2 separate regions of the Homo sapiens genome follow, and region 2 is linked to region 1. Evidence: promoter capture Hi-C in human tissues and cell types (Jung and others, 2019). All regions are on one chromosome and are shown on one strand. Each heading gives the region's core, a stretch centred on a gene start or on the middle of the fragment in contact. The rest is flanking DNA. Distances are from core to core; before and after follow the strand shown. Region 1 holds the start of C1QA (complement C1q A chain). Region 2 has its middle 3.1 kb from the start of CDC42.

Evidence for each region. Contacts are between HindIII fragments. The study calls those that stand out against the background at their distance.
Region 2: a fragment that was not itself captured here is called in contact with the fragment with the promoter of C1QA in region 1 in 3 of the 25 tissues and cell types used here (adrenal gland, dorsolateral prefrontal cortex and mesenchymal stem cells).

The regions. Positions count from the first base shown.
Region 1 is chr1:22,635,154-22,637,877 of GRCh38, reverse strand. It overlaps C1QA (complement C1q A chain), which reads right to left and starts at 1,250. Exons shown (of 3, transcript NM_015991.4): 1 at 1,176-1,250; 2 at 99-268. The coding sequence starts at 261. The HindIII fragment of the contact is 11,741 bases long and covers 1-2,253 here.
Region 2 is chr1:22,048,144-22,051,105 of GRCh38, reverse strand. No RefSeq gene overlaps it. Among named protein-coding and RNA genes, the nearest start is that of CDC42, 3.1 kb to the left of the region's middle. The HindIII fragment of the contact is 4,522 bases long and covers 1-2,962 here.

The DNA of each region.
Region 1 (2,724 bases), core at 1-2,500:
AGACGGACTCCTGATTCTCAGTGCCACCCCAAGCCTTCACCCTGGAGGCCAAGTCAGGCCAAGGTCCAAGGGGCTGGGTCCCGAGGAAGGGTGCTTACCCGGCTCCCCTTGCTCCCCCTTGAGGCCTGGCCGCCCCCGTCTGCCAGGTCTTCCTGCCTCCCCTTTCTTCCCGTCTGGTGCTCGGCACAAGTCCTCGGTCACCATAGAGGCCAGCGATATGGCCAGCACACAGAGCACCAGCCATCCCCGGGGACCCTCCATGATGCCTCTGTGGAGACACGGGAGGGCCTGGGCAGGTTGGACATCACACTCACACCCAGCTCCCACCCTTGAGTCCCATGCACACAATGATATATGCACAGTCCTCCCCAAGTGCACATGCACCCTCTGGGGCTCTCAATGTCCACTCTCAATCCAGCCCCAGGACCCCACGCATATACACAGAACCACAAACTCACACACATCCACACATGCAACAGAGCACACCCACATCTTCACACACTCACACAAACACAGCTCTCATCCACGCACCTACAAAACACAGTAGGCAAACTCAGAAATCCACTATACCCCCCTAGACACACAACTGATACCCAAATAGACCCTGTCCCTCACTTGCACGGACACACACATTCATACACTCCCACAGGTAATCGATTTCATTGAACAAATATGTATTGAGCGCCTGCTCCTTATTTAATTAACACTGGCTCACCCAGATGGTGGAGCTCTGCATACACACAGGAATTCACAAACGCCCAAAGCGACACCTGCTCACTCTTCTGCATGCTCAGCGCCTTTCAGCATCCACCTGAGCATGGGTGACTGGCTGCCCCTACAGTCCCCTCTGCTGGGTCCCACTGCCAGCTCTAGCACCCCAGGCTTTTCCTGGTTTCTTATGTGTTATGGGGCCAGGACCCAGGAACCCTGGTCTTACCCTTCAGTTGTTAGGTCTAACTCATCGCCTCTCACCCTCCCCCAAGCCCTGGCTCAAGGAGTTAAGGTCCCTCCACTCACCCATTCTGGGTCCTGGATCAGTGCTGCACCCCCATCCCTGTCCTAGAATCAGGCACAGTTATTTCCCTCCCTCCCTGCCTCAGCTGCCCAGCCTCCTGGGCCAGCTCCCCTGGGTCCCAGAACTCTGCAGCCCCCTCCCTCTGGGACTCTGGCCTCACCTGCCTCCTGTTGTCAACTCCAACTGGATGCTCCTGCCCTCCGCCCAGGGACCCTGTGGGCTGCCCAGCAGGAGTGGCTCCAGGCTGTGGCCAAGTTTCACATCCCTTCCTACTTCCCCTTCTTCAGACCTGCCCCCTGAACTTCCCCAGTGGCCAGAAGCTCACCAGGGACATTTCAAGCAGACTTCAGCAAGACTGGGACATTGGGCGTCCTGCCCCAGCAACAGCTGGTGTGGGAGTGGGGGCAGTGAGGCCAGTGCCTGTGAGGATGTGGGGTGGAGGCCGTGCAGGGTGAGGTTCTGAGAACCAGCGAAGCACAGAACACCAGAGCGGAAGGAATCTTTAAAAAAATCTGTCCCTTGTAGGACTTTTCATGATTATGAAAGTGACATGCAATTCATTGCCAAAAGCTTGGAAAATACAAAGAAGAAAGAACAGTGCATTGGTGAGAAGGAAGCACAGCAATCTGTTTCTAGACTTGCTGCTTCCTAGTTGCATGTCTTTGGGAAATTACTTGACCTCCTGAGCCCTCAGTTTTATCTGTACACTGGGAACGGGGTCCTATATCATCTGATTATTATAACATTTTAATGACTTGCACATACAAAACACTTGGCACATGGTGAACACTTAGTCACTAGCTTTTGCCAACATTTAAAAAAACAGCAAGTCTAGGTGCTTTGGCTCACGCCTGTAATCCCAGCATTTTGGGAGGTCAAGGCAGGCGGATCACTTGAGGTCAGGAGTTCGAGACCAGCCTGGCCAACATGGTGAAACTCCATCTCTACTAAAAATTTAAAAAATAGCCAGGTGTGGTAGCATGCACCTGTGTAGTCCCAGCTATTTGGGAGGCTGAGCTGGGAGGATTGCTAGAGCCCAGGAGGTTGAGGCTGCAGTGAGCTTTGATCTTACCACTGCACTCCTGCCTGGGAGACAGAACAAGACCCCATCTCAAAAAAAAAAAAAAAAAAAAGAGATGGCAATGGCGGGCCGTCTGGAATGGCTGCTGTCATCACACTGGCTGCAGCAGGGAGGCACGGCCAGGGCTGCATGCTCCATGTAGCCAGTGGGAGCTGGGGACAGTGGGAACCCCGCCCTCCTGGGAACCACTGCAGCTGCCAAACCACAGCTGATCCTGCTTCATGGAGCAGGTGGGGGCCCCCGCCATCCCCCATGCAGCTGCAGCTGCCTAAACTGCAGCTGTGGACCCAGGCATCCCTGCAATCTTGGGGGCCCGGGAAGGCCCCCCGCCCCACCCTTCAGGCTCAGAAGTGTCTGCTCCCACTGCCTGGCTTCTCCCTCCTCTTGGCGCCCACTCTGATCTTAGAGCAAAGTTGGTGCTGAGCCTGGGTGCTGTCGCAGCCTGGCTGGGTGTGGGCATGCTTGGGGCAGTGCTGACACACTAGACCCCTGCTGCCTTGGCCCCCTCTGGACTTTGGGCACTGACTAGCATGGAAGGAAAGCCAAGGGGAAACTGAGGGCAGCTCGGCACTGGCCTGCAGACGCTCCTTGGCATGAACAGCCTGGGCACCATGAACAGCAGCAGGAG
Region 2 (2,962 bases), core at 377-2,876, 590 kb after region 1:
CGCGCCACTGCACTCCAGCCTGGGCAACAGAGCGAGACTCTGTCTCAAAAAAAATAAAAAAAAATTGCTTATCTTAATAACAGCTCATTTATTGTCTACTGCCACAGCTATTTGGCCAACAAAGACACTTAATTCCAGTATATTGACTTATAGTCATATTTTCTTTTGGATTTTTTTTTTTTTTTTGAGACGGAGTCTCGCTCTGTCACCCAGGCTGGAATGCAGTGGTTCGATCTCGGCTCACTGCAATCTCCGCCTCCCGGGTTCAAGCAATTCTCCTGCCTCAGCCTCCCAAGTGGCTGAGACTACAGGTGCCCACCACCATGCCCAGCTAATTTTTGTATTTTTAGTAGAGACGGGGTTTCACCATATTGGCCAAGCTGGTCTTGAACTCATGACTTTGTGATCCACCTGCCTTGGCCTCCCAAAGGGCTGCGATTACAGGTGTAAGCCACCGCACCCAGCCCTCTTTTGGATTTTTTAATTACCCAAAAATAAGAACTACATTTTTTAGTGTTTACTGCAGGTATGGCTAATAGCTTTGCAGGTAGTAGTAGCTAATTTAATACTCACAGCCACCCTATGAGTTAAGAACTGTTACCCCCACTTTATGGTTACATGAACTGAAGCTCAGAGGTGTTAAGAGACTTGTCCATAGCCGCCATGCCAAGCAGTGGCAGAGCTGAGACTTGCACTCAGGAGGCTGGCTCTAGTTGACTATGACACTACCACACTATCAAGCAGGTTTATTATAGAGAAATTAGAAGATAAGCTTCAGGCCAGGCACAGTGGCTCACATCTGTAATCCCAGCACTTTGTGAGGCTGAGGCTGGTGGATCACCTGAGGTCAGGAGTTGAAGACCAGCCTGACCAACATGGTAAAACCCCATCTGTACTAAAAAACACACACACAAAAATTTGCTCGGTGTGGTGGCAGGTGCCTGTAATCCCAGCTACTTGGGAGGCTGAGGCAGGAGAATCATTTGAATCCAGGAGGCGGAGGTTGCAGTGACCCCGAGATCATGCCATTGCACTCCAGCCTAGGCGACAAAAAAGTGAAACTCTGTCTCAAAAAAAAAAAAAAAAAAAAGCCAGGTGCGGTGGCTCACGCCTGTAATTCCAGCACTCCGGGAGGCCGAGGTGGGCGGATCACTTGAGGTCAGGAGTTCAAGACTAGCCTGACCAACATGGTGAAACCCTTTCTCTACTAAAAATACAAAAATTAGCTGGGTGTGGCATGCACTTGTATTCGCAGCTACTCGGGAGGCTGAGACAGGAGAATCGCTGGAACCTGGGAGGCAGAGGTTGCAGTGAGCCGAGATTGCGCCATTGCACTCTAGCCTGGGCAACAAGAACAAAACCCCACCTAAAAAAAAAAAACAGGAAGATAAGCTTCAGCTGTAGTCCTACCTCTAATGTGGCTCACACCTATAATCCTAACACTTTGGGAGGCCGAGGCGGGTGGATCACTTGAGCCCAGGAGTTCAAGACCAGTCTGGGCAACATAGCAAGACCTGCCCCCACCCATCTCTACAAAAAATACAAAAACAAAACAAAACAAAAAAACTACATTGTGAACATCTTTCCATGTCAAATAAAGCATCATTTGTAAAGGCTGCATTTTACTCTCCGGGCATTGCAATATTTACCCAGACTCCTACTGTTGGAATTTGGGTTGTTTTGGGCTATTGTGAATTTATTACTATTGTAAAAATGCATAAGCTTCATTTTTTAAACTTGAGGGGAAAATGGTTGTTTCTTCCCTTCACAAGTCCAGCTGGCAGTGCCCTTTCCTTCATCCTGTCTCACAATCCCATGAATGTCCCCAGACAACGTCTGCCCTTTCCAGTAGCAGCAATATCTTGATGGGGTGTCACCCAACTGTTCAGCTTTTCCTGCCTTTATTCTGAGGACAAGGACTTACTTAGCACTATGTCTTTTATGTTGTCAGGTTTTTTGTCAGAAGAACCCTCCTAGACCTTTTCACAGCCCCAAACAGCAGTGGCAATGGTGTTACTATTACTTGACCCAATCTACCATGTCCCTCACTGCTGGCCCAGCCCCCAGCCTCCTAGTGCCTCCCCGCTACTGCCCCACTGCTATAGCTGCCTCATGTTAACAGGAGGGACAGCCTGTGGGACTCCGGCTCCCTTCCCGGTGGCTACCATTCCGGTGTCCATTCTTCCTTCTGGTAACAGCACTTCCATTTCTCCTAGAGCAGCCCCTGCCCCAACTCTCAATCCATGTGGCTCTAGAGATGACACTATCTCTAGTTGCGGGAATGGACACGTGACCCAGGCTTGGCCAATCACAGCATTATAGAGAGCCCTGTTGCCACACCATTTCAGCAACAGGCATGTGACCCAATGAGATTTAATTCTGGAACTTTGGTCACAACTATTCAGTTCAGTGAATCTCTGTTTGCTGAGAGTAGGATGTAATCGTGGCACTGCTGGCAGCCAGCTTCCCACTGCAAGCAGAGATGCTGCCTGAGAATGAGACCAAGACAGAGGGGGAAACAGAACTGAGAGATGGAGACATGAAACCAAGTCCCAGTGGCATTGCATGAGACATCAGATCCAGTCTTGCTTCAATCTTCAGTCACATTAGCAATAAATTCCCTCTATTGCCTGAACGAGGTTGAGTAGGTTTCTGTTGCTTATGACTGCCAAACTCTTGATGAATCACTGCCACCCCTGCCCTGCTTGTCTGCCCATGAGGTACTTGTCCCTACCCTCTAGGTAATAACTCCCAAATCTATACCTCTTCCAACCCCTATTCCCACCCCCAATTTTTTTTTTTTTTTTTTTTTTTTTGAGACAGAGTCTCACTCTGTCAACCAGGCTGGAGTGCAATGGTGCGATCTCAGCTCACTGCAACCTCCCCTCCCAGGTTCAAGTGATTCTCCTGCCTCAGCCTCCCGAGTAGCTGGGATTGCAGGCAACTGCTACCATGCCCAGCT